2 separate regions of the Homo sapiens genome follow, and region 1 is linked to region 2. The links are contacts of gene promoters, found by promoter capture Hi-C in blood cells and fetal thymus (Javierre and others, 2016). All regions are on one chromosome and are shown on one strand. The core of a region is centred on a gene start or on the middle of the fragment in contact, and the rest is flanking DNA. Distances in the headings are between cores, read along the strand shown. Region 1 holds the start of FRAT2 (FRAT regulator of Wnt signaling pathway 2). Region 2 holds the start of ZFYVE27 (zinc finger FYVE-type containing 27).

What was found. Contacts are between HindIII fragments. The CHiCAGO score rates a contact against its expected background, and 5 or more counts as called.
Region 1: a contact is called between the fragment with the promoter of FRAT2 here and the fragment with the promoter of ZFYVE27 in region 2, in 3 of 17 cell types (neutrophils, activated CD4 T cells and non-activated CD4 T cells). The highest score is 8.8, in neutrophils.

What each region holds. Positions count from the first base shown.
Region 1 is chr10:97,333,080-97,337,451 of GRCh38, forward strand. It overlaps FRAT2 (FRAT regulator of Wnt signaling pathway 2), which reads right to left and starts at 1,650. Exons shown (of 1, transcript NM_012083.3): 1 at 1-1,650. The coding sequence starts at 1,493. The coding sequence ends at 792. LOC105378448 (a long non-coding RNA gene) reads left to right here and starts at 1,767. Exons shown (of 2, transcript NR_188201.1): 1 at 1,767-1,892. RefSeq lists enhancers at 361-1,268, 3,806-4,324 and silencers at 819-868, 879-1,008, 1,349-1,498, 1,589-1,738, 1,869-2,218. The HindIII fragment of the contact is 20,442 bases long and covers 1-4,372 here.
Region 2 is chr10:97,733,803-97,738,393 of GRCh38, forward strand. It overlaps ZFYVE27 (zinc finger FYVE-type containing 27), which reads left to right and starts at 3,326. Exons shown (of 13, transcript NM_001385875.1): 1 at 3,326-3,519. RefSeq lists an enhancer at 3,042-3,191 and a silencer at 3,522-3,591. The HindIII fragment of the contact is 3,622 bases long and covers 2,656-4,591 here.

The DNA.
Region 1 (4,372 bases), core at 400-2,899, 400 kb before region 2:
TCGGGAGACTCCAAGCGGTGGTAAAGCACCAACAGGGCTCTTCTTGGAGCAAGAGAAAGAAAAGACTCCGGGGTGAGTAAGCTCTCCCAGGAACCCCACAGCAAACCGTGACCTTGAACACAGATGGCAAGGTCAAGTCATTTACAAGTCCACATTCAAATCCAAATCTCCCACCTGCAAAATTCTTCACCTCTCTCCAGTCCCTTAATTGGAGTTCACATCTCCCACCTTCACCAGCCACCGAATCGGTGGGAAAAAGGGGCAATGCCAAGCCACCCACCACCAAACTTTTACATTCTTCTCCCCTCTGGAATTTCTTTGCACAGCAATTGTAGCACCACTTACTAAGCTCCTCCACCAGAAAATAAGAAAATGTATGCGTGTCGTTAGTTTTCAAGTATTGTTATAAAGCCATCGCGATTCCTACCCCTGAGCCCTCCTTAAACAATCCAAGCTCACGACGCCCCCAAGGGCTAAGTGAGGTACAAGTCGATGCAAGTAGCTGCCATAGTTCTCCCAGTTTATCCCAGGTCCTTGGGCTTGGATGGCCCGGGAAATTCTCATGCCCCACGGAAGCACCCTGGCGCATACATTTCTCCACGCTTAAGTTTTCTCCGACGGCCTCGCCGCGGCTGGTAACTTCTCTGGTTGAGATCTCTCCCCACGCGCCTCCCCGCAGCCAAAGTGGTCGCTCCCAGGCTGGCGACGTCGGCTTCAGCTCAGAGTTAGTAGGAACTGGACGCTGTTGGGTCTACGCAGCGGCCTCCACTTCCTCCTCCAGGAGGCCTGCGTCAGAGCAAGGAGCCTGAGGGCTGCAGGGCAATGCGGTCAGGTCCGCTGCGGCCTCCCCCGGGCCCAGGGGCGCTTGCGGGGCCCGTGGCTGCAACCGCGGCGACGGCTCGTTGGAGTCTCCGCACGGCTTCCTTGATGAGGTTTCCCGAGAGCACGAGCTGCTGGAGGAGCCGATGCGGGTCGTCGTCGCCGGCGCGTGCCCCGGCTTGGGTCCATCGGCGCTGCTGCAAGCGGCGGGAGGTGACCGCGTCCCTGAGCCATCCTCGCCGGCACGGCCCCGGCAGCGCGCTGGGGCCTGCGGCGACCTCCGCCACGCAGTAGGGCGCAGCGCGTCCGCGCACGCGGCCGCGGTCCCCTAGGGCGCAGCGCAGGGCCCCAGAGGGCGCCGGGCCCACCGTCTCAGCCGAAGCGGGCGGCAGCAGCAGCGGCACCGCCGGGGGCCGGGCCTTGTCCGCCGGCACCGCCGCAGCCAGGGGCCCCGGGGCCCGCAGCGGCACCCCCGGGGGCGCGCACGGCGAGGCCGGGCTGTCCTGCGCCGCGTCCAGCTGCAGCGTCTCGCCGATCTGGGCCACCAGCCGGTCCACCTCGCCCGAGCTGCCCAGCGTCACCGACTGCTGCAGCAGGAGGAAGCTGTCGTCCTCCTCTTCCTCCCCCTCCGCCTCCTCGCCGGCTTCCTCTTCCTCCTCCCTCCGGCACGGCATGGCCCCCCGTCCTGGCACCCGGAGCTGTGCGGGCTTCGCTGGGGGCTTGGTTGCCCGCGGGCGCGGAGCTGCGGGCGAAGCCGGAGCAGGGGCGGACGCGGAAGCCGGAGCCCGCCAGGCACTCGAGCCACGCGCCTGCAGCCGCTGGAGCCGGAATCCTGCCGGCTCGGGTTGATTTGTAAACAATGGGTGACGTCGCGCCGGGCCCTACCACCGCACCGGGGCGGGGGTGACGCGCGAGCAGGCACGGGGGCAAAGGGCGGCGCGGGCGGTGACCGAAGCCGTCCCGCGCCTGTGTTCGTTGTCCCTCCAGGAGGGGGTCCGGGGCGTGGGGACTGATTTCCGACCTCCCGGGCCCAACGAGCCGTGCTGAAACGTGGCGCCTCGGAGGAGGCTGAGGTTGGTTTCTCCCACGCACGGACACACCCACACCCACTCCGGGCCCGCCTCCTGGGCCGCGGCCTCCCTCCCCACGTGTCGGCCGCGCCTAAGCCCGCCCGACTCCCGCCCCGCGCACCCGCAGTTCCCGGCCCTGGTCGTGGGGGAGGGGCGGGCCGCCGCGGGTCCGGCTTCGACGAGGCGGGGCGGGGAAAGGCGGAGGGAATTGGGAGTGAAGAGGCGGCACGTTACTTATTTACTTATTTATTATTTAGAAAAGGTCTCTGTCGCCCAGGCTGAAGTATAGTGGCGCGAACACGGCTGACTGCAGCCTCGAACTCTGGCTTAAGTAATCATCCCACTTTAAGCCTCCGGAGCAGCTGGGACCACAGGCGCGGCCACCACGCCTGGCTAATTAAAAAAATTTTTTTTGTAGAGACGGTGGTGGGGGGGGGGGGTCTCACTATATTGCCCAGGCTGGTCTCGAACTCTTGGGCTCAAGGAGTCCTCGCTCCTCGGCCTCCGAAAGTGTTGGGGTTACTGGCGTCAGCCGCCGCGCCCGGCCTAAGAGGGGACGCTTTGAAGCAGAGCAGAATCGCTCTGAGGTGAGGTCCCAGAGGCTTTCCCTCCCGCAGTCTTCAAGCCCCCGGACATATCATGAGAATAGGACTCACCGCCGCTCGGCTAAAGAAGGGTCTTTTTTTTTTTTTAAGGTTCAAATAGAAATATAGGGGATTGGCCAGGAGCGGTGGGTGGCTCATGCCTGTGATCCCAACACTTTGGGAGGCCGAGGCGGGCGGATCACCTGAGGTCAGGAGTTCCAGACCAGTCTGGCCAACATGGTGAAACCCCATCTCTGCTAAAAATACAAAAATTAGCCGGGCGTGGTGGCGGGCGCCTGTAATCCCAGCTACTCGGGAGACTGAGGCAGGAGAATGGTTTGAACCCTGGAGGCGGAGGTTGCAGTGAGCCGAGATCACGCCACTGCACTCCAGCCTGGGCAACAAAGCGAGACTCCGTCTCAAAAAAAAAAAGAAAAATATAAGGGATGGAAAAAATCTCTCATGGTTCACATTTAAATTTTTTTCCTTTTTAGCCTTTGTTCTATGAAAGTGTAGTATACAAACACATGCATACAGTGTTACACACTTTTCCACTTTGCCTTACATCATAAACGTTTTTCGTGTTATTGCATGCACTTTGAAAACATTTTAATGATTACATAAGTTTCCATCAAGTGCCTATGTTTTTAACATTTGCCTAATTTCACCATCGTTAAGTGTGTAACTAACATTTTTGTGCGCGACACTTTAAGATATTGATGATTCTTTCCTTAGGGCATATTCCCAGGAGTGGAATTTTAAGTCACAGTAGTTGGGTATTTTAAGGTTTACTGATAAATGTTCAGGAAGTGTCTTTCCAAGAGTTAGGTAAATGTACTCTACCATCATTAATGCTTGAGCATACATCATTACACCTTCACTAGTATTTGAGTATTATTGAATTTTTTTTTTTTTGCGGATTATATAGGGAAATTTTCTCCCTTCAGTTTGCATATCTTTGATTTCAGTTAGGTAGAGCAGTTTTCTAAATGTTTGTTAACAAACTGTACTTCCTTTCTTATGAATTGTCTATTTCCTAATAAGATTTTCCTAGGGAGTGTTTCTTACGTATTTGCATGACTCCTTTACATACCAAATGTTAACCCTTTTCATATTTTGCCGCAAATACGTCTCCAGGCTTTTGTTGGCTCTGTACAGTCATTTTTTCCCCCACTAAAACCAAATTTTCATGTAGGCAAATTTTAAAATCTCTTTGAAATTTCTAACACGATGCTAAATTTGGAGTCTCCTTGCTGCCAGAAAGTTATTAAATATTCCATTCTATTTTCTTTAGATTTTTCAAATGCCTTGATTTTTTTTTCAAATCCATCTGGGATTAATGTTGGTCTTTGTTTCAAGGAGATGACATGAAATTAATTTTTTCCTGGAGAGCTTGCCAGCCAAAGGTGTGTTTCTTCACTAGGACAGAGGTGTGAGGGTAGCATAAACACAAGCTGTCTGGTGAGTTTCCAGTTGCTGGTTAAGCTGGTGGTTGTGAGGAGTGGGTGGGGCTGGGAATGTTTTGATCAGTCTGTTGTGTGAAGTCAAAAGAACCCAGAACAGGTTGTACAAAGACCTAGATCCAAGTCTCATTCCTGCCACATCCTGGGTGTGGGACTCCAGGCAAATCAGTTTACAAGTGTTTTCACTTGTAAATAGGAGAAATAATCCCTGCCTGGCCTCCCTCTGAGGATTGTTTTCAGGATCAAATAAGATAATGGGAACGGGTGTTGTCAGGCATTACACAAATGTAGGATTAGGTCCAGCGGTTTACTAACAGAGGTCTGGCTCAATTCCAGCGAGTCCCCCCTGGGGAGCATTTAACATAATAATGTTGAAGATCCCCCCCATGCAGCCCACTAGGTGAAACGTACCCTGAGGGTATTACTTCTGTGCACT
Region 2 (4,591 bases), core at 2,076-4,575:
GATGACAGAGTGAGACTCCGTTTCAAAAAAAAATAAAAATAAAAATTAAGTAGCTAGGTGTTAGTGGTGTGCACCTGTAGTCCCAGCTCCTCTGGAGGCTGAGGCAGGAGGATTGTTTGAGCCCAGGAATTAGAGTGAGCTATGATTGCACCATTGCACTGCAGCCTGGGCAGCAGCAGAAGACCCTATCTCAAAAATAAAATAAAATTACATTAAAAAAGGAAAGAAAGATAAGAAAAAGAAAAAAGAAATGGGCATTGTTCTGGGGCTTTTGTTGAAAGAGATGTGAATTCTGTGCTCCAAGAGGAAACTGACACGCATGCGCTCATTCAAGGAACATTTGTTGGTACCTCCTTTGTGCTAGATGCTGGACACAGAAATTATAGGCAGTTCCCTCAGGACTCTCACTGTCTAGAGAGAGGAGGAGGCACCAAGTGCTGGGGTGGGGCAGGCCCACGGAGCCAAGTCAGAAGGGCACGTAATCCAGACAGTGGCTGCTGATGGGGAAGGTGTCAGAGAAGTCTTTCTTCAGGGGTGAGATCTGAGCTGAATTTTGGAGGAAGAATAAGAGCTGGCCAACTAAAGAATATGGGGCGCAGTGGCTCACGTCTGTAATCCCAGCGCTTTGGGAGGTCGAGGCAGGTGGATCACCTGAGGTAAGGAGTTTGAGACCAGTCTAGCCAACATGGTGAAACCCCATCTCTACTAAATACAAAAAATTAGCCAGGCATGGTGGTGCATGCCTGTAATTCCAGCTACTTAGGAGGCTGAGGCGGAAGAATCGCTTGAACCTGGGAGGCAAAAGTTGCAGTGAGCCAAGATTTCTCCATTGCACTCCAGCCTGCGCAACAAGAGCAAAACTCTATCTCAAAAAAAAAAAAAAAAAAAAGGTGAGAGTAGTCTGTAGAAAGGTACAGTAATGGGAGAAGGTGTGACATATCCGAGAACTGCCAGAGTTGAATACACCAGGCTTTGGTTTTATCCTGGAGGTCACAGGGGGCCACTGAAACTATCCACCAAGAGAGTGGTCTGAGAAAGGTACAGAGGGGTGGACAGGGTGGGGGATGGGAGTGGGTGGGGAGTGGCGATGGCCTATCCTGGAATTCAGACCTGAGGCCAGGTTAGGAAACGAAGAAGAGGGGCCTTCAGAGGCTATCTGCATGACAGACCCAGGAGCTTTCGGGGAAAAGACCCATCCTAAGGGAGGAGAGGCAGAGTCCAGCAGATGGGCCTGGACCACCACAAAGCTCAGTCCATTTCTCTAAGGGGTGGTGAGTGGATTTCTGTATATGGCTTAGTGATATGTGTGGGAATTGGATCTTTCTACATTTTGGCCTTTCGTGGATTCTTGTCTGATTTTTGGGCTAGGGGTGGTGGTGGTAGGGCTTTGAGTAAAAATAAAAATCACAATGATTGCTAACGATTTTTGAACACTTATAACATGTCAGGAATTTACATACTTTAGCTCATTTAATTCTCATCACAGCCCCACACTGAGGGTACCACTATGGTTATCCCCATTTTACAGCTGGAAAAACCAACCAAGCAATTCATCTGAGGAGAAGCCCTCCTACCTTACTTATGTTGGGACTGGCGCATGCCGGGTAATTGACAAAGTCAACTAAAGCAGGGAGCTTTGAGAAAAATACCTACACAGGGTAAGCATTTACTTTTGGGACAATCGTCAATTTATACATAGTTATAAGAACTAACACAGGGTGATCCCACAGACTACCCCCCAATGGTAACATCTTGCAACCCTTCTTAACAGAATGCCTACTATGTGCCAGGTACTGCTTTAGGTGCTGGAGACATAGACACGGGAAACGAAACATTAGCTGACAGAAGCCACAAGAGTGAATGAGATCCTCACGGAGTGCCTTGAGTCAGAAGAAAGAAGGGTAGCAAAAGGAGCCCCAGCATTTGAGGGGTAGGAAGAAAAGCCCTAAGGAGACCTTGAAGGTCGGAAAGAGAGGAGAGGGTGGTGTCATGGAAGCTAAGGTGGACAATGGTGCCAAAAAGGAAAGAGATTCCAGTGCTTCTGAGGTCATCTGCAAGGAGGACTGGGAAGTGTCCATTGGATTTAGCAGCCAGGATGTCACAGGTGAGCAGGCAGGTAGCCCAGAAATATGGAGGGGAGCAGGACCACAGTGCAGTGAGGAGTGAATTGGGCGAGGAAGCAGCGGTAGAGAGCACTTCACAGTGAGTCTTCCAACTCATGTAGGAAAGAGGGGGTAAAGTTAGGCTAAAGGAGAAATTTTCCATGAATTTTGTCTCTAGAATGATGATTAAGAGTTAGCGAGAGTCAAGATTTCAGGCCTGTTAGAGCAAAGCCCTAAGGAAATAAGAGTTGGACCCTGGAGCACAGCTAAGTCCTGGCTGGAGGGATGGGCCTGTCTTTCTGAAAGGAGATAATGGAGGAAGAGATGCAGTTAAAGCTCTGTGGCTACTTGAAGAGGGAAGTGATTACTTCCAGCTGGGGCACTCAAGGAAGGGATACAGACATTTGAGTGCCAGGGGCATTTGAGGGTAACAGTGGAGGGGTTCAGTTGGCCAAAGTTAAAGGCAGCTGAAAGATGGCAGGAGACAAGACCAGGAAATGCAGACCAAGGTGGGTGGTGGTATGGTTGGGGCGTTGGGGTCAGATGACACATAAGCTTCAAATTCCAGCTCCCATTTGCTTCTTAGCTGTGACTCTAAAGAAGTTCCTTAACACGTCTGAGATTCCCCATCTGTAAAATGGCGACAACCCTAATAGGGTCGTTGGAGGAGAACTAGATAATGTCTAAAAAGAGCTCAGTCCGGTTCAGTGCTTGGCTCCTCTGTACCTGAGCGCTAAGTCACTAATATAAAGCCATCGGATGTGTGCTTTAAGGGAAATTAACTGGGCCACACGGTGTGAAGTGAACTGAGCTGGGAGAGGCCTGCACAGGACCTTGTACACACTAGCTACTCCGGAAACAACTGCATGCTCTGCTGGGCATCTCATACAGGATACGGTGTCTTTCCGGGGCTCACACACAGTCCCCAGTTCAGTTCCAAAGTTGGAAGGAAAGAGGATGAAGACGTAAATTCTTCATTTAAGCCTCTCGCCAACTGTTCCCTGCGGCAAGGCAGGGCAACGAGCTGCAGGGTCGCCAAGCACGTGCTTCCAAGGGTCCTCAAGGCTTTGTGAACGGCGGCCGGCCAAGGACAGAATTAACTCCAGCCTGGAGCGCGCGGGAAAGACGCGCAGGCGCACTGCTGGCAAGGGTGCTTGCCTGTGCTGGGGTGGGCGGAGCTAAACCCGGAGCGGGATGACGTCATGAGGACGCAGCCGCAGAGCGATTCGCGTCCCGGAAGCGGCGGTGGCGGCCGCGGCGTAGGCGGAGGAGATTTTCGGACCTGCGACTTCCGAACAACCCTGGCAGGAGGAGCGGCGTTCAGCCGGGGGAGGCCTGAAGAAACGCTCCGGGGCCCAGTGGCTCTACCCCTGCTCCTGCCCGACCCTGCCGCCTCCCTCACGGAGCCAGCGGCCGGGTAGGTGAGGTGCCGTCCCCCCGCGTCCCAGTGTCTCCGCAGGCTGTGTGTAGTTGGGTGCTTGGGCGCAGCGGGGGCCGCCACATGCTGGCCCCACGACCTCGGGCATGGCCTTCCCTGTCCAGCCTCACGGGCTCCATCAGGCCCCCCTGGCTGCAGAGGTGTTGGCCAAGGCCAGTGCGGGCGTCGATATACCTCGCCCCTTCCTGGGCTCATACCTGGCGCCGCTCTGTGCCCTTTCGCCTTGGCTCGGCCTGCGGGGATTTCGGGGTCCCGTTGGCCCCTTTGTCCCATCCCCTCACCCTCCCATCAGGTCGCGGCTGATTGCCTGGGACTGGTTTATGTTGCTCTTCGCCGAGGTTCCGCCCCCTCGTTTGCTGCTTAGAGTTCAGGATAGGACTTTGAACTGGGAAAGACCGTAAAGGCTCCTCGGTTTCCTCATCAGAAAGGGCAGACGGGAATGGGGCGTTCTGATGCCGACTGCCCTGGGGCAGAGATGGCCCAGGAAGTTGTTGGGAACCGAAGGGAGTGGGAAGAGTTAGAGGATCGGGCGAGAGTCCTGGAGCACGGTATTTCATTCACTCATTCAGCAGGCATTTGTTAAGCACCCACTGTGTACAGAAGCAGTCGTGAATGGAGGCCAGTTAAGAGCAGGGAGTTTTACTTTGACGTGGTCAGTGCTCTGCACTTGATCTTAGCCACAAGGCCAAGAAGCGATGTGATGTGATAAGTGCTCTGTTAGGGTGAGTACGTGATCCTTTGGGAGCATCGGAGAGGGTCTCCCAGTCCAGAGTTGGGGGTGTTGGCAGAGACTTCCCAGAGTAAGGGAGTGATGTTTAAGCTGATACCTGAAGGATGAGTAGGAATTAACCAGGTAAAGAGTGGGAGAAAAATGTTCCAGGACATCATTTCATTTCAGCCCATGGGCTGCCTCGCTGCAGCGATCATTTATGCTTGGTTTTTATGATTTTTAGTTTTGATGGATCTTTGGGGAAAAGAGCATTGGATGGAGAGTACAAAGAACAGGATTTTAGGTCTGAATAGTTCACTTTCCCTTGCTCACAGGTTTACT